Regions from separate parts of the Homo sapiens genome. Here all the other regions are linked to region 1. The links are contacts of gene promoters, found by promoter capture Hi-C in blood cells and fetal thymus (Javierre and others, 2016). All regions are on one chromosome and are shown on one strand. The core of a region is centred on a gene start or on the middle of the fragment in contact, and the rest is flanking DNA. Distances in the headings are between cores, read along the strand shown.

What was found. The method cuts DNA at HindIII sites, captures the fragments that hold promoters and counts their contacts. A CHiCAGO score of 5 or more calls a contact.
Region 2: a contact is called between a fragment that was not itself captured here and the fragment with the promoter of STAMBP in region 1, in 15 of 17 cell types (monocytes, M1 macrophages, M2 macrophages and 12 more). The highest score is 10.9, in monocytes.
Region 3: a contact is called between a fragment that was not itself captured here and the fragment with the promoter of STAMBP in region 1, in 6 of 17 cell types (M1 macrophages, M0 macrophages, monocytes and 3 more). The highest score is 8.1, in M1 macrophages.
Region 4: a fragment that was not itself captured here is called in contact with the fragment with the promoter of STAMBP in region 1 in 1 of 17 cell types (megakaryocytes); the score reaches 6.3 in megakaryocytes.

The regions. Positions count from the first base shown.
Region 1 is chr2:73,824,690-73,830,841 of GRCh38, reverse strand. STAMBP (STAM binding protein) reads right to left here and starts at 1,881. Exons shown (of 10, transcript NM_213622.4): 1 at 1,332-1,881. It overlaps LOC105374807 (a long non-coding RNA gene), which reads left to right and starts at 444. Exons shown (of 3, transcript XR_940246.3): 1 at 444-526; 2 at 1,938-2,085. RefSeq lists an enhancer at 1-384 and a silencer at 1,892-2,110. The HindIII fragment of the contact is 5,447 bases long and covers 1-2,742 here.
Region 2 is chr2:74,057,527-74,063,678 of GRCh38, reverse strand. All of the region lies in intron 4 of TET3 (tet methylcytosine dioxygenase 3), which reads right to left. Among named protein-coding and RNA genes, the nearest start is that of TET3, 76 kb to the right of the region's middle. The HindIII fragment of the contact is 6,470 bases long and covers 1-5,762 here.
Region 3 is chr2:74,017,026-74,023,177 of GRCh38, reverse strand. All of the region lies in intron 3 of TET3 (tet methylcytosine dioxygenase 3), which reads right to left. Among named protein-coding and RNA genes, the nearest start is that of TET3, 35 kb to the right of the region's middle. RefSeq lists enhancers at 1,357-1,856, 1,808-1,857 and a silencer at 2,038-2,117. The HindIII fragment of the contact is 1,716 bases long and covers 2,682-4,397 here.
Region 4 is chr2:73,679,335-73,685,486 of GRCh38, reverse strand. It overlaps the pseudogene ALMS1P1. Among named protein-coding and RNA genes, the nearest start is that of NAT8, 40 kb to the right of the region's middle. The HindIII fragment of the contact is 317 bases long and covers 2,316-2,632 here.

The DNA.
Region 1 (6,152 bases), core at 632-3,131:
AGACAGAAAAAACAGATGGCATCAATACCGTTGCCCTCATCATCCCAGCAGTTTTACAGTTTATCTCACAGACCTCTACCTTAAGAAGAAAATATAAGAGAAACATACCAAATGCTGTGGCTCCTATTAAATAAGGACTTTCCTACAAGAAGGCTGAGACCCTCAAGGAAGCCCAAATCACAACGATGAGAGTACTGGCAGACTAGAAAACATACAACCCCTGTACCATAATTAGGTGGTATAAGGAGTAGAACCACAGTGGACCAACCAAAGGTTCAGTTCAAGTTAATCAAATCCTTTGCCATTAGGGGGCTCCGCCCACAGCACTGTAAAAGTGGGAACAGCATCTTTTATTTTCTATTATTTCTCCTTCCAGATACCCACATACCTCCACCCCAGTACCTGGCAGAGTGCACTCAGTGAACTTTCTTGAGGATTGTTAACTAACTTCAAGGTTGACCATTTTTACTTAATCTGAGAGTAACTGACATTTTCTGTGGTATCCTTTTTCATATTTGAGCACAAGGTGAGTTAGGGGAACTGGTCTGGGAATTAATGCTCATAATTGTAACTCTGCTCACTAAACCACTATAGTCAATCTATAAAATCATTCATTCATCATTATCATGGCAAGAGACTTAAATCTTGAAAACAACCATTTACTCATCTTCATAGACTAAACACTGAATAACAAAAAGGCACGATGGTAACTTGCATTGCAAAAACCCCTGGTGTCCCAAAACTCCAGTAATTCTAGTCTTTCTAGATATAGTTGCTGTTAGAATCAGATTCCAAATTCCAACCAGATATCACCACTATCATCTCCAAAATAAAACTGGGCATTTGACACACATTGCATTACAGCAAACCCTAATCAGTATGCTCTAGAATACACAAACTACAGTAGAATAAATCTTGGAATTCAAGGCCCTGTGGCAACTGGCCCTCCCCAACAGAGATCTTTTGCTTCAGTCAGGATTCCAATCCGCCCAGGCATCCTCACATTTCAGTTTCATTTATCTATCCAGTTTTTCTTTTCTACTACAACTCTTCCCTCAGGGGTAGTCTTCTCTCAGCCAATTCCATCTTTAGGTCTCTTCAATATTCGGGTCACAATTCCTCCACAAACCTTCCCCTCTAAAACACCCTCACTAATAGCACAAAAGCCGTGAGGACTACTAGGGATGCAGAGATAGTCCATCTCTCACGAGGCCTCCTTAGGGACTCAGAAAGCCGCAAGCATATCTAAAACCTCCCCAAGTAATTAGTAAACCTAGTCCACGGCCCATGAAAGTTAACTGAAACAGAGGATGCTTGTTGCATCTCAGTACCTCTTGGGAGAGGTTCTTGTGGGTTAAGAAAGGAACCACCTCCCAAGGCCAGGAAGCGGCGCCGGTTACCACCTGGTTGAGCAATTCCAAAAAGGGGATGCAGCATCTGCAAATGAGGGGGAAAGGCGGCGTAAAGGACCGAGGGGGAAATACGAGGAGGAGAAAGGAAGTAGCAGGAATGAGCGGAGGGGGCGTATACAGTAGGGAGGGCTCTATCGACAACTGCTTGAGGAACCCTTCTTGAAGGCACTCAAGACGAACTTGCCAACCCCAGGCACAATCATCCAGGGTTTTCGGGATCTTTCAAATGCAGTAGGCGGGGAACCGCTGGGCCTGGCTGGTCAGGCGCCAGCCCGCGGAGACAGAAGCCGTCGGGTGCCTCGAGCGAGGCAGGCCGGGCAGGGGACTCGGGGAGAGTAGGCTGCAGGCCCCACACTCACGGCGGCCGATCCCCTTCAAAGTCCAACCACGCTCGGAGGCCCTGCCCCACCACGTTCCCGGGACCCTTCCCCACCTTTCCCCGCGGATGACACCCGGAGGTTCCGGAAACGTCACATCCGGCGCCCGCTCCGCCCACTCCCGTTCGTCTGTCTATTACATTCCCAGTGATTTAGGACTTGGAACGGAGAGCTAGTAGGTGGGGCTAGAATCGGCACCTGCGGAAAATCCGACCAATGAGGAGCGAACGACACAGCGGCCATCTTGGTAAAGGAAAAGGAACAAGGAAGAAAGTGGAACCAATTAGCAAGCTAAGGTTTGCTTTTAAAATTATTTTGATTTGGGGTAGTCCCTCATCACACTCACAATACTCCTGCATTTAAGGAGGGATTGCTGATCCCAGCACAACTGCAGACTTAGCTAAACTAACCAGGATTTATAAATTGGGGGACAGAAAGTCTTTCGAATGTATTTTTTAGCTTGTATTACATTCTACACAAAAATTGGTAGTCTTAGATATTAGGCAATATCTAAGACTAATTTTATTGCTTAGAAAAGAACATAAGTCTAACTTTTTTTTTTTTTAAGACAGGGTCTTGCGGTGTCACCCAGGCTGTCACAGGAGTGCAGTGGTGTGATCATAGCTCACTGTGGTCTCCAACTTCAGGGCTCAAGCGATCTTCTTGCCTCTGCCTCCCAAAGTACTGGGATTACTGGCGTGTGCCACCGCACCCAGATGAGACTAACGTTTTAATGTCAAAAAACCTATAAAATATTTGGAAAAAAAGCGTTTAATCTCTAAGAGCCGCTATGCAAAAGCAGTGGAGACACAAAAATCTGTATGACACTGTTCCTGCCCTGAGACCGGGACAAGGTGGTTTTATGCATCAAATACAGAATGGCACGTTCTGCATGTAGATGTGTGTCTGTACGAATCCATATACATCCTCTTTACAAAAAGGTCCTACAAGCTTGCTAATCATTCTGTCTCAGAAGACTTTGTGAAACATTAGGCTTTGGTTTAAAAGTCTAAGTCTCTGGGGGACACTTTCCCAAAATTTGGGAGCCTCCCTGTGAGTTTGTTAGTGTGATGGCATGACCTATTCTTCAAGGTCTAGCTTAAATCCCTAATTCAGGTGTTGCCTCCTCCACCTAGCCAGCCTCCAGATCTCTCATTTCTCCCAACCTCCGTTGTGTATATTTCTGTTGGAGTTACCTGAAGTGATTTTGTGTAGTCATCAACTTTTCAGACTTAGGGTTGAAAGTACTTGCTTGCATCATATCACCTCCCCTTCTGCCCCCAGCAAGCATTAATGTGCATGGGTCTACTATCAACTCTCATGGATCTACTGCAGATAAATCTGGGAAGATAATTGTATAGGGCACTCTACTGTGTCTTCAAAACTCTCTCTACTGACTCTCTTCAGAATGTAAACATGATGGGTTGGGCCTAAAGAAATTGATGCACTGGAGATGCTGGTCATTGGGTGGGCATTATAGTGCAGATGGGGTCCTGGCAGGAGGCAACACAGGTCAAAATCTGATCCATTCAACCTCTCACTCAGTAAATGTTTACTGAGTGTCTACTATGTGCCAGGTTCTGTTCTAGGTGTTAGGGATACATCAGCAAACAAACCCAGCAGGTGGATACTCTAATGGTGGAAGCACAGGTAGAAGTACAGCTGGTGGGGTAGGGAGGGGCATCTGCTCCCATTCAGCACAATCTCTAAAGTAGTTCTTTTTTTTATAATGTTTAGCTTAACAAGTAAAGAAAATTTACAAACATCCTAGATTTTAAGATTATGATGAGAAGACTTTAAGAAGCTATAACTGAGACACACATATAAGGGGTGTGCATAGTCGTAAACATAGCTAGCGCCACATAGAGGCTGTTCCTGATATTAGAAAGTTAATATGCCCAGTTGCTAGCAGTTCTTAAGGTAATAGCTAAGTGAATATAGGAAGCAGGATCTAGTCTTTTTAGGGAGAGAATTTGTAAATGTTGACCAGAGTTTTTGATATCTGGGGCAAAGTTCAATACTCAGCTTTCTAGGGACCTGAAATAAGAAAATCTTGGCCAAGGTAAAAATTTTACATTCCTCATTTCTTGTTTAACTGGAAAAGTTTAAAAACTAAACAATTTTGTATACACAATCAGGAAATCAAAGCTATAAAAGATTCTTGGCATAACTGATGAGAATATCCTACCTACCCCTGCCCTAAAGATTGGAGGCTAAGCGTGGAAGGTATTCCTTCAGCAAATAGGCTTCAGCAGTTCACCTGGCAGACTAGACCAGGTTAGGAATTGAGATGCTCTTTCCTTCCGGTGCTCACTCCCAGCCATGAACACTTTTCCTGAATATAGCAGCCTCCATCTGGCCGCTTGCATATGCCAACGTCAGGTCTCCTGCACTCCTGCATGCTCATTCCTACTTGCTCATTTTTGGGCAGCAGCAAAAGATGCCTAGAAGGTGAAGTTCTTAATCTGAAATGTAACATCGGGGTTTAGAAAACACAGGCCTGGACCAGGTGCGCTGGCTCACGCCTGTAATCCCAGCACTTTGGAAGGCTGAGACAGGAGGATCGCTTGAGCCCAGGAGTTCGAGGATATAGTGAGCTATGATTACACCACTGCTCTCCAGCCTGGGCAACAGAGTGAGACCTCTAAAAAAACAAAACAAAACAAAACAAACAAAAAACCCAGGAGGATCACTTGAGCCCAGGAGTTTAAGGCTGTGGTGTGCTATGATCTCACCTGTGAATAGCCACTGCATTCCAGCCTGGGCAACATAGTGAGACTCCTATTGCTAAAAAGCAAAAAGAAGAAAAGGAAAAATACAGACCCAGCGGAGTTCGGGGGTCAGGGAGGGTAAAAACAAGGAAGACTCTAGGTGTATTTCACTTGCAAGGTTGGTACTCTTGTGTTAAGTGACATACCTAGAGGGACAATTGCATTAGTACAGGAAGGGCGTTCATTCTTACCTACTACAATGCATTCTTACAACAGCAGCTAATTTTTTTTTTTTTTGAGATGAAGTCTTGCTCTGTCACCCAGGCTGGAGTGCAGTGGCACAATCTCGGCTGCAACCTCCACCTCCCAGGTTCAAGCAATTCTCCCTGCCTCAACCTCCTGAGTAGCTGGGATTATAGGTGCTCGCCACCAAACTTGGCTAATTTTTGTATTTTTTAGTAGAGACAGGGTTTTGCCATGTTGGCCACGCTGGTCTTGAACTCCTGACCTCAAGTGATCCACCCACCTCAGCCTCCCAAAGTGCTGGGATTACAGGTGTGAGCCATCACGCCTGGCCACTAATGATCTTTTTAAAGCAAAAATCAGATTCCATCACTCCTCGGCTTAAAACTCTTCAGTGAATTCCCATGGCACTTGGAATAAACATCCACACTCCTTACTGGGGATTACAGAGTGACTCGGCCCCTGTTGCCTTTCTGACTTCATCTCCCAATCTCCTTGCTTAATACTCTCCACCGACACCATCCAAACATCTGCTTTTCCACTCAAGACCTTTGCATAGCTGACTCCTTTTCCTGGGATGCTTTTACCCTCATCTTCACTTGGCTGGCTCTGCCTCATCATTCATTTCTCAGTTTACATGTTACCTCCTCAAGGAGAACTTCTCTGACCACCCATTCTAAGGAGCCACCCAGTCATCCTTCATTAGTTGGTCTTATTTTAATTGTCTTGATAATCCTTACCACTGTCTGATATGATTTGGGTTGCTTATTGTCTTTCATTCCCCACTAGAATATAATTTCCAGAAAGTTAAGATCCTTTTCTGCCTTGCTCACAGCTCTATCCCCACTGCCTAGAATGGCTTGCGAAACCAGATGTGACACTCAATGAACATTGTTGAATGTTCAAATGTTGTTGAGATAAATATTGTCTCACTGTCCCCAAAATGATTTACAGGAATGTAATTAGCCAATTATGCTGATTACTGAGATGAACAATGAAAAACAATGACCGTTATGCTTTTGGGACCCACTCTTCTCTGCAAGGCACTTAGAGCTAGAAGCAGAAAGCCTAAAGGCTAGATGCCTTTATTAATTGAGCAAGTGTTTATTGAATATCTTTCAAGCTCATGGGTCTGTGTCTGGCATGGGTCTACCACAGTGAAAAAGAAAAACTGGGCGGGGCATGGTGGCTCATGCCTATAATCCCAGCACTTTGGGAGGCTGAGGTGGGCAGATCACAAGGTCAGGAGATCAAGACCACCCTGGCTAACATAGTGAAAACCTGTCTCTACTAAAAATACAAAATTAGCTGGGCGTGGTAGTGGGTACCTCTAGTCCCAGCTGCTCAGGAGGCTGAGGCAGGAGAATCACTTGAACCCAGGAGGCAGAGGTTGCAGTGAGCTGAGATCG
Region 2 (6,152 bases), core at 1,278-3,777, 230 kb before region 1:
ATACCCACTGAACAACTCATCTCCCCCTCCCCCATCCCTTAGCAATCACATTCTATTTGCTACTTCTATAAGTCTATTTTACAAAAACTCATATAAGTGGAATCATGCAGCATTTGTCCTTCTGTGACTGAATTATTGAGCATCTTTCAGGTTTTGTAAGGTATTAAACGTAAAAAAAGGATGGACAGAATTAGAATATCATCAGTTTGCAATCCCTAATGAAAAATTAACTTACACAAGGATCATCAGTAGACATGATATGACTAAAGATTGATGGGGAACTGGATAATCACATGGTGGTGAAGTATTGCCTGACAAATTATTTGCTGGACACAAAGGGGAAAACATAACTTTATAATGGCAAGACCTGGCTCTTGCTCTTACCACCTTAACCTAGTGACACCTGGGCTTCACCAACGGTGGGACAATTAGACTTCTCAAAGTGATCTTACATGAGAAGCCTGGCATACTCCATTAAAAAAAAAAAAAGTTTCAGGCCAGGCATGGTGGCTCAGGCCTGTAATCCCAACACTTTGGGAAGCTGAGGTGGGTAGATCACTTGAGGTCAGGAGTTAGAGACCAGCCTGGTCAACATGGTGAAACCTCATCTCTGCTAAAAATACAAAAATTAGCCAGGCGTGGTGGTGCACGCCTGTAACCCCAGCTACTCGGGAGTCTGAGGCAGGAGTATGGCTTGAACCCAGGAGGCGGAAGTTGCAATGAGACGAGATCGCGCCACTGCACTCCAGCCTGGGTGACAGAGTGATACTCTGTCTCAAAAAAAAAAAAAAAAAAAAGTTTCACCTGAACTTAACCAAGTATTTAGATCCTTCAGCATACGGTTCTCTTTTTTCTCACAGTGAAACAAGGTTTACTAACCTTCTTGGTGCTGTTTAATGCTATTCAATCTTAAATTCAATCTTTACCCTACTTACATTCATTGTTATAACATATATTTCCGGCATTTTATGTTTTCCATGTTTAGTGCTTCCTTGTCTTCCTCGTTTGCTGCAGATTTTGTATTTTCTATTTCCCCCATCAGCACCATCCCTGGTAATCTGGAAAATCTATAGTATGTTTTTAAAAATGCTAACGGTACTTCTAAAGAGAAAAGTTAGCACCTCTATAATTTCTCCCACCTCCTCCTTTACTTCTGCTTTTCACTGGTATCCTCAGGAACATATTTCCCTCTGCTACATGTTAAGATGTTTAACATAAAAATATATCTTAAGTAGAGTTTAAGTAAATATCTTTTGTTTTAGAAAAATAACTGTCATTTAAAGTTAGACTTTACATTTGAACAGATTTAGTGTTCATCGCCAGCCTCTCCATACTACAACTTCCCCATCTATTATTATTTTGATTCATCTCTAGAAAATTTGAGTTCTTGCATATTTAAAAATGTTTTTATGGATTTTTTTTGGTGGAGACGGGGTTTCGCTGTGTTGGCCGGGCTGGTCTCCAGCTCCTAACCGCGAGTGATCCGCCAGCCTCGGCCTCCCGAGGTGCCGGGATTGCAGACGGAGTCTGGTTCACTCAGTGCTCAATGGTGCCCAGGCTGGAGTGCAGTGGCGTGCTCTCGGCTCGCTACAACCTCCACCTCCCAGCCACCTGCCTTGGCCTCCCAAAGTGCCGAGACTGCAGCCTCTGCCCGGCCGCCACCCCGTCTGGGAAGTGAGGAGCGTCTCTGCCTGGTCGCCCATTGTCTGGGACGTGAGGAGCCCCTCTGCCTGGCTGCCCAGTCTGGAAAGTGAGGAGCATCTCTGCCCGGCCGCCATCCCATCTAGGAAGTGAGGAGCGCCTCTTCCCGGCCGCCATCCCATGTAGGAAGTGAGGAGCGTCTCTGCCCGGCCGCCCATCGTCTGAGATGTGAGGAGCGCCTCTACCCGGCCGCGACCCCGTCTGGGAGGTGAGGAGCGTCTCTGCCCGGCCGCCCCGTCTGAGAAGTGAGGAGCCCCTCCGCCCGGCAGCTGCCCCGTCTGAGAAGTGAGGAGCCCCTCCGCCCGGCAGCCACCCCGTCTGGGAAGTGAGGAGCGTCTCTGCCTGACAGCCACCCCGTCTGGGAGGGAGGTGGGGGGGGTCAGCCCCCCGCCCGGCCAGCCGCCCCGTCCGGGAGGTGAGGGGCGCCTCTGCCCGGCCGCCCCTACTGGGAAGTGAGGAGCCCCTCTGCCCAGCCAGCCGCCCCGTCCGGGAAGGAGGTGGGGGGGTCAGTCCCCCGCCCTGCCAGCCGCCCCGTCCGGGAGGGAGGTGGGGGGGTCAGCCCCCCGCCCTGCCAGCCGCCCCGTCCGGGAGGGAGGTGGGGGGGTCAGCCCCCCACCCGGCCAGCCGCCCCGTCCGGGAGGTGAGGGGCGCCTCTGCCCGGCCGCCCCTACTGGGAAGTGAGGAGCCCCTCTGCCTGGCCAGCCGCCCCATCCGGGAGGGAAGTGGGGGGGTCAGCCCCCCGCCCGGCCAGCCACCCCGTCCGGGAGGGAGGTGGGGGGGTCAGCCCCCCGCCCGGCCGGCCGCCCCGTCCGGGAGGGAAGTGGGGGGGGTCAGCCCCCCGCCCGGCCGGCCGCCCCGTCCGGTAGGTGAGGGGCGCCTCTGCCCGGCCGCCCCTACTGGGAAGTGAGGAGCCCCTCTGCCCGGCCACCACCCCGTCTGGGAGGTGTGCCCAACAGCTCATTGAGAACGGGCCATGATGACAGTGGCGGTTTTGTGGAATAGAAAGGGGGGAAAGGTGGGGAAAAGATTGAGAAATCGGATGGTTGCTGTGTCTGTGTAGAAAGAGGTAGACATGGGAGACTTTTCACTTTGTTCTGTACTAAGAAAAATACTTATCCTGTTGATCTGTGACCTTACCCCCAACCCTGTGCTCTCTGAAACATGTGCTATGTCCACTCAGGGTTAAATGGATTAAGGGCGGTGCAAGATGTGCTTTGTTAAACAGATGCTTGAAGGCAGCATGCTCGCTAAGAGTCATCACCACTCCCTAATCTCAAGTACCCAGGGACACAAACACTGCGGAAGGCCGCAGGGTCCTCTGCCTAGGAAAACCAGAGACCTTTGTTCACTTGTTTATCTGCTGACCTTCCCTCCACTATTGTCCTATGACCCTGCCAAATCCCCCTCTGCGAGAAACACCCAAGAATGATCAATAAAAAAAAATAATAATAAATTTAAAAAAAAATGTTTTTATGAAGACTTTACATATGGATGGTGACTTAAGTAAGTCGAACTTGGATCAAACTTTTTAATCTCAATACTCTACTCTGAGAACTGCAATACACGTATCCAGCTAAGAACCCATATATCCAAAATAAAGAACCCTTACCACTCAATAAGAAAAACAATACAGAAATGGGCTTGAACAGCAACTTGAATGACTTGAACCGGAACTTGAACAGAAATGACTTGAACAGGAACTCCACAAAAGACGGCATATGAAAAACTGCTCACCCTCATTAGGCATCAGGGAAATTCAAATTAAACCCACAGTGAGATACTATTATACATCTACCACAATGGCAAAGACTGGATGGCACCATTTGCTGGTGAGAACGTGGAGCAATGCTGGTGGGAGCTTAAACTGTAACAACCACTTTGAAAGACCAATGGTACCTACTAAAGCTCAACACACACAATTTCAGTCCTAGGTAAATACCTAAGTATACACATGTATACATAAATGCACCAAGAGACAGGTATAAGAATGTCTTATATCAGCATGATTCATAATAACCCCAAGTTGGAAACAACCCAAAAGACCATCAGTGACCTACTGGATACACTGTGGTGTATTCAAAAAATGGAATGCTGTACAGCTATGAGAATGAACGACGGGGCAGATAACAAATGTACATACATACAGATAACACAGGGCCAGGCATGGTGGCTCACACCTGCAATCCCAGCATGCTGAGAGGCCAAGGTGGGAGACTAGCCTGGGCAACAAAGAGAGACCTTGTCTCTAAAAAAAAATTTACAAATTAGCCAGGCACAGTGGCATGTGCCTGTAGTCCCAGCTACTTGGGAGGTGTGGGGATCACTTGAGCCAAGGAGTTCATGGTTGCAGTGAGCTATGATCACATCACTGTACTCTGGCCTGGACAACAGTGATATCCTGTCTCTCTAAAAATAAATAAATAGGTCAGGCATGGTGGCTCACACCTGTAATCCTAGCACTTTGGGAGGCCAAGGCAGGCAGATCACCTCAGGTCAGGAGTTCCAGACCAGCCTGGCCAACCTGGCGAAACCCTGTCTCTACTAAAAAAATACAAAAGTTAGCCAGGTGTGGTGGCGCATGCCTGTAGTCCCAGCTACTCTGGAGTCTGAGCCAGGAGAATCACCTGAACCGGGGAGGCGAAGGTTGCAGTAAGCCGATATTGCATCACTATGTTCCAGCCTGGTCAACACAGCGAGACTCCGTCTCAAAAAAATAAATAAAAATTAAATAAATAAAATAAAAACACAATATAGATGAATCTCACAAACACATCATTGAGCAAAAGCCAAAATATGAAAGAGCATATGATACATATTCATGATTCCATTGTATGAAGTTCAAGAACAGGCAAAACTGATCAGTGTGGTAAGAAGTTAGAATAGAATAGTTACCTTAGGACAGGGGTCAGCAAACTTACTCTGTTAAGCACCAGACAGCACACATCTTAGGCTCTGCAATCTCAGGGGCAACTACTCAACTGTGCTGCTGTAGTGCAAAAGTGGCTATAGACAACGGATCAACAAATGAGCCTGGTCATGTTTTCATAAAACTTTACAGACTCTGATATTTTCATGAGTCGTGAAATGTTATTCTTCAACTGACTTTTTTTTTCAACCATTTAAAAACATAAAAACCCCTTTTATACATGAGTGTGGGCCAGGTTTGGTCTGCAGGCTGCCAGCCTATGCTTTAGGGGATTGGGTGCCACGTGCCTGGAGGGGTGGACTTCGGAGGCTTCTGAGATGCTGGTAAAATTCTGTTCTGCTGTTTACATGAGTGTGTCTTTTATAAAACTGTATTGAGCTGTACACTTGTGATTTACATATCTTCCTGTATGTGTATTTCAATACAAAATGTTTTTTGAAAGTGCTTTTAAAAAAGAAAAAAATTTAAAAATTAAAAAAAATTTGTCTACAAAAACCTAATATAGGTGACCAACTTTTTTTTTTTTTAAACTTGTAGGTGATTCTTCACCCTTGAAATTTAATAAGTTAATCGGCATTGTTATTTGTCAAATTTCCCTCATTTTCCCTGGGACATGATAACTTATAACACCTTTTCACTTCAAAAATGTTTTCTATTCCACCTTTGACTCTCACGTTTGTTCAGTTTGCTCCACACTGTTCGCCGAGAACACCGAGTGTTCCCAAGATTCCCACCAGAATGAATCTGTGTGTGGGGTCCCTACTGTCCCTCTCTTCTGCTTCCCTCGCTGTCTGCCACAGTGATACTGTTCATTTCTACATTTTCCCGTTTTGGGGTGAACTTTCAAGACCATGCCTCTTCCTCACCGATCTGCTTTTTCTGTTAACTCTGATTCTGCTTTTTGTAGCTTCTCAATGCACTTTTTATGTGCTTTGTAATGGCATGCTTCTTCTGGAATTTAATCCATAACTCTCACAACTTCTTTATAACTTAGCACCTCATCTTTCATTTTTTATTTGATAGCGACTGTTTTCTTCAACTTCCCTGAAGATATAAATCAGCGGTTTAAACAATTCCTGTATTTTCTCATGTAAATTTTCTTTTTTTAGCTTAAGTATTTGTTTGCAACTAAGCTTGTTAACACTAATGAAAATGTACAAAGAATTATAAATTTTCTTATTAAATGTTATATTAATCCCTCCACTTTTCCTACAGAATTTGAATGGCTACCATGTTGATTTTGTTTATTTGTTAATCAATCTTCTCACAGGAGAAGCTGATCTCTAGTTTCTCCCCCTTGACAGAACTGACATTTTGGATCAACTAGCTCCTTACTGTAGGCACTGTTAGGAGGCTTAGCAGCATCCCCAGCTTCTAGACGCCAGTGGTTCCACACCACTTTTGATGACCAAAAATGTCCTCAGATATTGCCAAATGTCCCCTGGGGGAGAGGAATGGAAAGCCTCCAATTGAAAGCCACTGGTCTATACTTATTTGCCCAAAAATAGAGTGGGCAGAATTTCCT
Region 3 (6,152 bases), core at 2,290-4,789, 190 kb before region 1:
GGTCACCCAGGTTTGGAAACTCCTGGCCCCTTGCTACTCAAAAATGTGGTCCAAGGAACAGCAGCATCAACATGACCTCAGAGGTTAAAAAATGCAGAATAAGGCCGTGCGCAGTGGCTCACGTTTGTAATCCCAGCACTTTGGGAGGCAGAGGTCAACAGATCACTTGAGGTCAGGAGTTCAAGACCAGCCTGGTCAATTTGGTGAAACCCCATCTCCACAAAAAATACAAAAATTAGCCAGGCGTGATGGCGAGTGCCTGTAGTCCCAGCTACTTGGGAGGCTGAGGCATGAGAATCGCTTGAACTGGGAGGTGGAGGTTGCGGTGAGCCAAGATCATGCCACTGCACTCCAGCCTAGGCGACAGAGCAAGACTCTTATCTCAAAAAAATAAAAAAAATAAAAAGCAGACTCTCAGCCTCATCTCAGACTCACTGAATTTGAAAATGCATTGTAGTAAGAATCCCAGGTTATCTGGATGAAGAAGATAAAGTGGAGAAGCACTGGTCTGGCCTATACCTGCCTAATTGCCCCTCAATTCCTCTTAATTTGCAAAAGCAGTGCCTGTTCTGTGTTCTGTCTGGCACAACCAAAAGAAAAAAAAATAATAAACCGATTAACTACTGGAGCTAGATTTGATCACACAAGCATGTAAAAAAAAAAAAGTTTGGCAAAAAACAAAACAAACAAAAAAAAACCCTCCAGCCGGGGCAACAGAGTGAGACTCTGTCTCAAGAAACAAAAAAACAAAAAACAAACAAAAAACCCCCCAAACATACATTAAAAGAAATTTGCAATACTTGCCAAAGCATGATAAAGAGTTAATACCACTAATACATGAAGCTGTCTTACCATTCATAAAAAAAGCATACACAAAAAATAAAGGAAATAAAAATATATTCACAAAGAAAAAAGATCACAACTAAACATAGCAAGGAAAGATTTGCAAATCAAACATTTTGCACTCATTTTTATGCCAATCAGAAAAGAAATAGTTTTACAATAAACATGTATTATTTTGACAATCCCAGAGGGAAAAGACCAGAAACATTTAAAATGGAAAAAAAAAAAAAAAAAAAAAAAGTGTCCTAGAAAGACTGAAATAGTAACAGGAGTTCTCTCTGAGTAGAAAAATTATGGACTTTTTTATTTTTCTCTATCTGCTTATCTGAACTTTCTGATTTTTCTACAGTGAATTTTTATTCTTTGTAATAGACAATGGCAAAAAAAAGTTTTAACTATTTCCTAGAGTTTGATCATATCTGAAATGTCTTCCTGTGTTTTCACAAGTGTTTGCATAGCACCTGGCCTTTTCACAAACCATCATGGCATTTAAAGGCATATCTTTTCAGTCCTGATCAAGTACTGGAAGCCCCAAACAGGCAGCCTCTTTTGTTAACATTAGTTCACAGGCCAGCAGTTCTCAAACTCCATTGGGCGTGGGAATCACCTGTAGGAAGCTGGTTATGGATGCAGATTCCCAGGTCCCACCAGAGATCAACGCTGCCTGACCATGGAAGGGATTCTGACCCAGGTGGCCCCTGAACGACCTTTTGAGAACCCCTTCCCATAATCCTATGGGGTTGAGGGTGAGTGCAGATGAGGGGAAGGCCTCGGCTGGTTCAGAAACCAGGTGAACTGAGGTTCTTACAGGCTGACCAGGGACAGTAGTCTCTTCCCACCTCCCATATGCACATGCAGGCCTGGCCATTCAGTGGTCAGTGCTGATGCTCTCTGAAACGCCAAAACATGGATGGAGGTGGCAGTGTAGAAACAGACTTTGTCCAACGGGTGGGCTAAAGCCCTAGGCAGCCCTGCATCGTGGCCTCACTGCCAGAATGCGCTCTGCTCTGTAAGGAGGCATCTGGAACAGCTCCATCGGTTCATGGAGGTCCATCTGTCAGAGTCTCTGCTCAGCACCCTGAGAAAGCAGCTCCTCCAGAGCTGGCAGAGATGCAGCTGTGGATGCAGCTGGGGCCTCATGGGGAGCCTCAGGGCCACCTGGCTGGGGAGACTCAGAGGCCCCAGGTGGGCACTGGGAGATGAAGTAAGAAACCAACAGCAGGGGATAGGGGCAGATAGAGCAATACTTCCAGATCTTTTCCCCAATCCAGTATTTCTTGAGTGTCCTCTTGGTTCCAATGTTTCCCAGGGATTAAAACAAACCAGCAGAGGAGCCAGAGAAGCATTTCTATGTCCTCTGCCACCCTGAGCATGGGAGATGAGTGAGTGGGAAGGGGAGGGTGAGCACAGACCACGGGATAAATGAGGAACAGCTTACTGCTGCGGTCAAGCAAAACCCAGGGAAACCCCGGGACACGCTGAACCAGATGCACAACTGCTAGAGAGGGATTAGAAATCAGCTCACGTCCTCACTCCCACCTTCTTTTTATGCATGTTGAGAGGCAGAAATCCTGACCCCTGCTTAACAACAGCAGGGATTCCCTTCTCTCCAAGGGCATAGCCCTCAAGCCCTTGAACAAGAGGTGGGAGTTCCCTTGTTCCTGGGTCCCTCCAAGGCAGGTAGACATCACCATCCTTGCTCCAGGGGCAGCAGAGACCAGTGGGGGCAGGGACCTGAGAGTCTGGAACCACTGCCAAGGGTACAGAGTGAATTGGCATGCCCCAGACAGCTCCATCAAGGAATAGTGCCTGCCATTCCCCAATTACAAACAAAAGCTTACATATAAAATGCAAACACCAAGCCTGGGCACTGTGGCTCATGCCTGTAATCCCAACACTTTGGGCAGGCAGACCACTTATGCCCCAGAAATCAAGACCAGCCTGGGCAATATGGTGAAACCCCATCTCTAAAAAAATACAAAGAATAGCTGGGTGTGGTGGTATGCACCTGTAGTCCCAACTACTAGGGAGGCTGAGGTGGGAGGATCACTTGAACCCAGAGGCAGAGATTGCAGTAAGCTAAGATCATGCCACTGCATTCCAGGTTTGGTGACAGAGTGAGACTCTGTCTCAAGGGAAAAACAAATGCAAACGCTATGGTAAAGATTAGCACACGGATAGGAATAAACTTCACGTAGGACATACTGGGTTGGGGGGATGCATATACTCTGGAGGAGAATAGTAGAAGAAAAAAGAAAGGCACTACCATATGAGAGAAGGTGACTGGGCACATAGGTGTGAACCCATCTCACAATGTTCTGTACAAGCTCTGCTTCCAGCCTTGATGAGTCCTCATCCCCTAAGGGAAGCTGCAGATAAGTTTGTTTGTGCTACCTTGAAATGATTGGAAGCTAAGAAAGCAGTTCTCCCAACTAGTTAGCACTAATGAGGGCTAACAACAAGGGGGCTGTGGGTCTCAGGATAATAATGAGATAGAGGCTCAGAGGGCTCCTCCCTGATGTCTGCACGTGGAAAAATGGCCCAGGACCTCCTTTTTCCTGCGGGGACAAGGAGGGTGCCCAATCTGTTATCCAGATCACAGCCTGCAGGGCCTGGAGCCAGGGCTGCTTGAGATTCTGCTGCTCACATTGGCCCAGGCTGTCACACTTTGAAGAGGTGAAGCTCACTGTCCCTCTCATCAATCTGATGCCACGGCGTTTATTAAAAGGATTTACCGCATGCTAGGCTTTGTGCCAGGTACTGGTGACATGAAATGGAGTGAGATGAGCACCCCACCACTGGGAACTCACACTCAGGCACACAGTATTGCCACGGAGGTACAGACAATATACCATGAGGACTTGAGGGAGAAAGGGACAGAAGTGTCAGAAGAGGCAGCACAGAGCAGCTGCATTTCTAATATGCGGGCAAAGATGGGATACAAAGTATAACAGAAAAGATCCCATTCCCAACAGCAACAACAGCAGCTACAGCATATCTAGGAAGAAACTTCACAAGAAATGTGTAAGAAGAAAACCTTAAAACGTTTCATTTATTTTGTTTGTTTGGTTTTTATTAGAGACAGAGTCTCCTTCTGTCGCCCAGACTGGAGTGCAGTGGCCAGATCATAGCTCACCGCAGCCTCCAACTCCTGGGCTACAGCGATCCTCCCACATCTGCCTCCCAAGTAGCTGGGACTACAGGCATGCGCCACCACACCCAGCTAGTTTTTATTTTTTGTAGAGATGAGGGTTGGCGGGGGGTCTCACTATGTTACCCTGGCTGATCTCAAACTCCTGGCTTCAGGCAGTCTTCCCGCCTCAGCCTCCCAAAGCACTGGCATTATGGGGCATGAGCCACCACACCTGGCCTTAAAACTTTGATGAACACACAAAAAAGACTAGAATAAACGGAAAGGTCTACTTCCCTTTCTCTGGATAGGAAGATTCATTGTAAAGCTATCTATTCTCCCCAAAATAACCTGTACGTTTCATGTGATTCCAACTGAAAAATCCCAGTATTTTTCGCAGAACATGGTAAGTTGTTTATAAGCTTATTTGGAGAAAGAAATGCCAAAAAAAAAAAAAAAAGTAAGAAGTATGTTTTAAACCAAAGTATTATATAAAAATGGTGGTAATTAAAACAATGAAATACACAGAATCAGACAAATAAGTCAATGGAAGTAAAAAGAGGCCTTAAAACACCCATGACTGTAAGAGTACTTATGAAATGCTTAAGGTAGAATTCATACACTACAAGGGAAACTACAAATACCCAATAAATAGATTGGGGATAACAGGCTTTCTATTTAGGAAAAGTTCAATCCCTATCTTATATCGCATGCAAAAATAAATCTCACCTTAGAAATCTGAACATCTAAAATAAAACTTAAGTAAGAAAAGCCAAAATACTGATGAATTCTCGTTGTATAAAAATCAAATTTTTATGATAGACACAATGAAAGACAAACAGGCCAAAATTTTTTTCAAAACGTAACAGAAGTTAGTATCAAAACCCTCATAACGATGAAAGCTATACTATGTTTTCTCACTTAAGATGACAGAAGAAGGCCAGGCACGGTGGCTCACACCTGTAATCCCAGCACTCTGGGAGGCCAAGGCAGGCCGATCACTTGAGGGCGCGAGTTCGAAAACAGCCTGACAAACATGGAGAAGCCCCGTCTCTACTAAAAATACAAAATTAGTCGGGCACGGTGGCACATGCCTGTAATCCCAGCTACTCGGGAGGCTGAGGCAGGAGAATTGCTTGAATCCGGGAGGAGGAGGTTGCAGTGAGCCGAGATTGTGCTACTGCACTGCAGCCTGGGCGACAAGAGCAAAACTCCGTCTCAAAAAAAAAAAAAAAAAAAAAAAGAGACAGAAGAGGTTTCATCTTATCCCAGTTAAAAAGGCTGTTAAGAAAAAGACAAAAAATAAATGATGGTGAGGATGCGGAGAAAGGGGAACTCTTACAGACTGTTGGTGGGAATGTAAATTAGTACAGCCATTACGGAAAACAGCATGGAGGTTTCTCAAAAAAACTAAAACTAGAACTACCGTATGATCCAGCAATCTCACTTCTGGATATACGTCCAAAAGAATTGAAATAGGTGTGTCAAAGAGATGTCTGTACTCCCATGTTTACTGCGGCAGTATTGACAACATCCAAGATATGGAATCGACCGAAGTATCAGTCAATGGATAAAGAACACGTGGTACGTGCACATAATGGAATACTAGTTAGCAATTAAAAAAACAACAACAACAAAATACTGTCATTTGTGGCAACATGGATGAGCTTGGAGGATATGTTAAGTGAAATAAGCCAGGGACAGAAAGATAAATACCACATGTTCTCACTCAAATGTGGAAGCTAAAAAAAGTTGATCTCATAGAAACAGAGAGAAGAACAGTGGTTATCAGAGGCTGGGGAGGGCAGGGGTGCAGGGGAAATACCCAAAGGTTGGTTAACACATTAAACAGCACAGCCAGATAGAAGGACTAAGTTGCGGTGTTCTATAGCACCATAGGGCAACTATAATTCACAATTTATTGTTTGGTTGTATGTGTGTGGAGTGGAGTGCAGCGGTGTGAAAATAGCTCACTACAGCCTCAAACTCCTAAGCTCAAGCAATCCTCCCATGTCAGCCTCCCAAGTAGCTGGGACTACAGGCATACAATGTCGTGCGGGGCTAATTTTAAATTTTTTGCTATACAGAGAGGGGTCTCACTTTGTTGCATAGGCTGGTCTTGAACTTCCCACCTCAAGCAATTCTGCTGCCTCAGCTTCCCAAGTAGCTGAGATTATAG
Region 4 (6,152 bases), core at 1,225-3,724, 150 kb after region 1:
CCCCTTCCTTTTTTTCCCCCTAGTTTTTATTATGGCAAAATACATAAAACATACAACTAACCATTTTAACGTGTACAGTTCAGTGGTACTAATTATGTTCACAATGGTGTGTAACTGTCACCACAATCTATTTCCAGAAGTTTTTCATCATTTCAAACAGAAACTCTGTACCCACTAGGCAAGAACTCCTTGTCTTCTCCTCCAGCCCCCGGAAAGCCCTGTTCTACATTCTGTCTCTACGAACTTGCCTATTCTGACAATTTCATATAAGTGAAACTATACAATATTTGTCCTACTGTGTCTGGTTTTCCTTTCCCAGAAAATCCCCCCACCCGACTCAAGGCACAGATTAGAAAACCTTCCCAGGCCTTGAGTCTCCCCCTGCAGGCGGTGTCCTTACATGGTCTGGGTGCTGCTTCCCGACGTCACCGGGATCCCTGGGTGTTTCTCTCCTTTCCCTGGAAGCCTTTCTTTCACCCACAAGGCACCGGGAAGCCTTTGTGCTACTGTTCCTCCTGCGTGTGTCCTTGATAAAGTACAGAATGGACCAATAAATTTAAACTTATCATAAACAGTGGGCAATTTTTAGCATGGGACAGAATCAAACATTAAAAATCATTTATCTGAAATTCAAATTTAATTGGGCATCCTGTATTTGTGTTTGCCTCATCTGGCAGCCCTACTATGGACACTTCTCTAAATTCCAGACTCAAGTCCAGTCCACAGGTTGTCCACCCTTCTCAGAAGTCCAGGGATAAGGGATATGGACCAATCTCTAAAGAAAAACCTCCATTTCAGGAGGAGTTATGCTACAGGTGCCTGTGACTCCAGGTCTAGATGCTGGCTTTCACCACTTGACAGGGATTCCCTGCAGTGGGAGAGGTTCAGTGGCCTGGGGCTGACTCACGTCTGACAAACCCAGAGTGTGGGTTTCAGGGCCTAGCTAGGCTGTGGCCATGAGGTGATCCTGCACTCTTAAGAGTTCACCCCAGCATAGGATGCATAAGTGTTTCCTGAGGACAAGGTTTGGGACATGCAAGAGGCTGGCACTGGGCCAAGAAGACTCTGAGTCTCAGTGGAGTGACTGCTAGAAACCAGGTTTGGGGAGGAGGAGGAGGAGGAGGAGGACCAGAAGCTGGAGGAAAACCTATTGCTTGCATTGCTGGAGTTACGATCCAATATTCCAGAGGGAGGCCTCAGAAGAAGCCATGAAAACACCCAAGAAAGTCAGCTTGAGACAATGAACTGCCAGGGTGAGAGGGCAGGATGCCAAGCTATGGTCCCCATCCCCACCACATAGACACACACACACAGATGGGTCAGACACCTCCCTGTGCTGCTGAGGAGGAGAGCCCTGTCAGGCAGGGACAGAGGGGACTATGCTCCCCTAGATGGTGCAGAGAGGTCTGGCAGGGGAAGAGAGAAGATTTTAAGTGGAACTCAAATTGGGAGTTTCGATTATTACACTTTTACTTATTGAGTGGAGACTGGGCTTTCAGTGAAAAGTCAGCACGGTAGAACATGTAATCCCCTGACAGTGATCCGAACAGTCGAGGCATTACCTGAGTTCTCATCTCCAGTATAAGGGGAAGAACTCCCCAATTGAGCAGGCTTACAAAAGGCAGTGAGAGACAAGTGCAGTTGGGTCCTGATATTCACAGCAGCATTGTTCACAAGACCTACACATTATATGCAGTTATGAATCTGTTTACCAAACTGCTTACTGTAAGATTAGAAAATATTTGATATAATAAAATGTCTCACATAAATTATGGTGCATAATAAAATGAATACCCCTGAACCCAGCACCCAAATGAACTAGAAAGGTCACTATATTTGACAATACTTTCAAAGCTAAGTGTCTCTTCTCCAATCCCAGCTCCCTAAGGATGTAACCACTATTTTGAGTTAAAAAAATCCATCTGTCTGTCTATCTATCATCTGTCCATCTATCTGTTTGATCCTAAAATGACATGGGTCCCTAGGTGTCCCTGCACATGTTTACCTTGGCTTGCTTTTAAACCTTATGATAAAAGTATCATACAATATATTCTTCTGAATTTTTTTTCCTACTCAACATCGTCTCAAAGATTCACTAAGTTTGATGTTCCTTAATTTTCTCTTCTGTCTAGAATTCTTTTGCGTGACATACCACTTGCCATTTACTCATTCTCTTGTCAAAAGACACTTGAGTTGTTTCTAGTTCTTTGCTAGGGTGAAAGGACATATTTGGTGAAGATGTCCTTGTGAACCTTCCTGGGCTGATTATTGGTGAGCACTTTTCAGAATGCTGAATTATAGAGTGAATGCAAGCTTCCTCAAGCAGTGTGTGAATTCCAGTTGATCAACATCCCTGTCAACATTTAGAGTGGCACAAAGACAAAACTTTGTGCCAATCCAGTGAATGTAAAAAGGTATTTTATTCTATCCATAACATGCATTACCCTAATTAATAATGAACTCAATCTACATTTTATGTTTATGGGCTATTTGTGTTTTTCTATAAAGTTGCCTGCTCATGAGTTTAGCCCATGTGTATTAGTCCATTTTCATACCACTGTGAAGAAATATCCAAGACTGGGTAACTTATAATGAAAAAGGCATATCTTACATGATGGTAGGCAAGAAAGCTTGTGCAAGGGAACTGCCTTTTATAAAACCCTCAGCTCTCATGAGACTTATTCACTATCACAAGAAAATGGGAAAAATCTGCCCCCATGATTCAATTACCTCCCACCAGGTCCCTCCCACAACACATGAGGATTATGGGAGCTACAATTCAAGATGACATTTGGATGCGGACCAATCACAGCAGAACGTGAAGGAGGAGCAAAGGCACATCTTATGTGGTGGTAGGCAAGAGAGGGTGTGCAGGGGCACTGCTCTTTATAAAACCATCAGCTCTCATGAGACTTATTCACTAACACAAGAACATGGGAAAAATCTGCCCCCATGATTCAATTACCTCCCACTGGGTCCCTCCCACAACATGTGGAAATTATGGAAGCTACAATTCAAGATGAGATTTGGGTGGGGACACAGCCAAACCATATCACCATATTTCTATGAATTGTCTATTTGTTTTAAAGAGACTTAAATATAAATTGTGTTTTTAAAAAACCGACTCATAGAAGTTCTTTATATATTCTGGATACAAATTCTTTGCTGGTCAGATGTGCTGCAATTATCTTCTCCCATTTTGTGCCTTGTCTTTTCACTGTCTTTATGGTGCCTTTTGATAAACAAAAAATTTATCAAGATGAATTTATCAATCTTTTTCTTTATGGTTAGCACTTTGTGCCTTAAGACATTTTTCTGTTCTTACTCTCTTATATTTTCCTCTAAAAATTGTAATGGTTTTGCCTTTCATGTTTAAGTCTTTTTTCTTTTTGGTTTTTATTTCTATTAAAATTATGTATGTAACTATTATAAACAGCCAGGGTTCAATGGCTCTGTCATGTGAAACAGCAGCCCCTACATTCCCCAGCACTTCTTTCACAGGCTGTGTGACTCCTGCTCCATTGTCCAGGTCTAGCCTGCCTGCTGTCAGCTGCTGAGGAGGGTGAAGACAAGTCTCCTCCATGCATATACGCACTCCTCCCCTGCTCAGCTTCCCAGTGTGGTTAGATGGCCCTTTGGGCTACTTCACTATTCTGTGTTATTTTAAGCTAAGCTATACAGTAAGCCATGATGACTTATCCTTTCCTGAAGGCTTTTGATTTGTATCTTTTCCCTTAGAACTGATACTTTTCTTTTTGCCGTTGTTCAGTTTTCTGTGTATTTATCACTTATTCAATGCCAAATTCTATCAGATGTCCAAATGTCTCCTCTTAATATTTAGATGACGTGATTTAACGATTAGATCTCCCTGGTCTTTTCCAGCACCTCTGATCTGTCATTTGGATTGTTTATTTTCTGTGTGCCATTCAACAAACTCCACTTTAAAAAAAAAAAAAAAAAAAAGAAGATAGGGGTCTCACTATGTTGAACAGGTTGATCTTGAACTCCAGGCCTCAAACGACTCTCCCACCTCAGCCTCCCAAAGTGCTGGGATTACAGGCATGAGCCACCACATCTGGCCCCCATTCGACAAATTCTTATTGGGCCAACCACGTGCTACATGTTGTGTTAGACTCCAGAGAAACAAGGAGAACAAGATGGTTGTCATTCTTGCCTATGTGGAGCTTACTATCAAATTCAGGGGAAAAAAAACCCCAACAAATTCTGGAGCAATGTTTGCTATTCCTAACTGTTTGACTGGCTCTGAAGCTGATGCCTGCCTGTCATAAGATGGCACCAGTGTGGGGGACTCCTGAGTAAGAGAGGGGTCTTCCCCAGTTTCCTGTGTGGCCAAGGCTCTCTGCCTAAGTTAGGGATGAATACAGAGAAGTCTCTGAAGCACCTTCCACCTTTTCTCAGTTCACCTCTGTCTCATGAAATGAAGACTGTGATAGCCATTTTGTTAAGTCTAGCCCTACCTGTCTCATAGTTCCTTGAGGTTCCTGGACTTAGTGGAGCAATGGTGAGGCCAGACGAACTGTGTGATGAGACACCATCAGGGATCAAAGGAATATGTGAATTTGGCCATGACTTTTTGGGGACAGGCTGGAACATTGAACCCCAAGCCCCATGCAGAAGTCTAGCAAGTTGGGCTGACCTCTCAAGAGGGCTCTATTTTCTCCAGAGTGGAGCCTTGGGTCTCATCTCTGCAACAATCAGACTATCTAAAGTAAAGCCACCAGCATTGGAGGAAACAAATCCAGGATAGAGTAAGACAAGACACACACACCCATAGGCAGAGATTTTACTCCAGTGTCTATGGAGGAGATGGCTTGGGCTACTGAGCATTTTTTGGCCCATCATAGCTCCCTGAAAGGCTGGAGAGGAGCACATAGGGCTACGGCTGCTCAGGCAAAGAAAATTAATAGTCCACATCTATGTTCTCTGTGACTATGATCCCCTTAAAATGTAGCCTAGTCAGGTTTGGAAAATAATGCCCCCATTGCCACCACCCCAGCCTTGGTGGTGGTGGAGTTTCCTTAGATCAGGACTCTCATCTTGGGCAGCTGCAAGAGCCAAGGGCTATGGAGATGAGCCATGAGTGCCCCCTAGAGGCCAATGATGTTAGCTTTAATTTTAATATCATTCCCTTTTCCCCATGCCCACTCCCCACCATCCCCTTTCATGAGTATTTCGTGAGAAACTGGGAAAGGGCTGTAAGCAAGGCTTCAAAACCAGTAAAAATAAGTCTAGCATCAGAGGTAAAATCACCCAGCTCCCAGACTCGTAAAGACATAGACTGTGTCAACAGTTCAGCTTGGCCTCACTTCCTAAGGACTGGCTATATAGACAAGACAGGGCGGGCCCCCAGGGAGTGAAGGAATTTAATGAATTTGAGCAATTAGCCCGTTTTACAGCCTTCTGCCTTGCAGACGGTTTTGTCTCAAACCCTGTGTGAAATGTGGTCACCTAGTCAGTTGGAACCTGCTCCTGACAGACCCCAGCAACTTATAGATGAACTCACTTACAGTGAACTTTCCTCATTACAATGCTAAATCCTGCACCCTGGGAGAGCTATAGTTTCATTACCATAGCATGCGTCCTATGTGGTGGCACGATGACTCCCTCCATCTGTGTCACTGGGACCCCTCCTCTTCATGTGATGATGCACCTTCTCCCCTCTCGATCACTCTATAAAGCCTTCCTGTCATTTTCTCTTAGGAGACACTGCTTTGACGAATATTCCCAGAGCTCTTCCTACTTGTGACAAGTAATAAAACTCCTATTGATCAAAGTCTGTGTTCTCAGCGACTTTTGTTACTCACCAGGCAAACAAACCCCGCTTTTTTTTTGGAGGCAGTGGGGTGGGAGGGCCTGGGAAACAAATCTGGTTGATCCAGATGGGACTATGGACTGAGCCCTGACTCGACCTCCCTTATAGGCTGCTTACAGGCGAAGCAGCAGTCTGAGGAAGCATGAGTGGGTTAAGTTGCCAAGAGGGAGATTGGTGAAGGGCCTCAGGCATGCCAACCCCATCCCCCCAGCCCACCAGGAAAGCAGAAGTGGCTGCTTGGACCTTTCATTTGGTGCAATTTTGAGGCAGTAAGTGGTGGTGGTTCTGTGAACTGACTAAAAGAGTGGTTTTGGTTTTG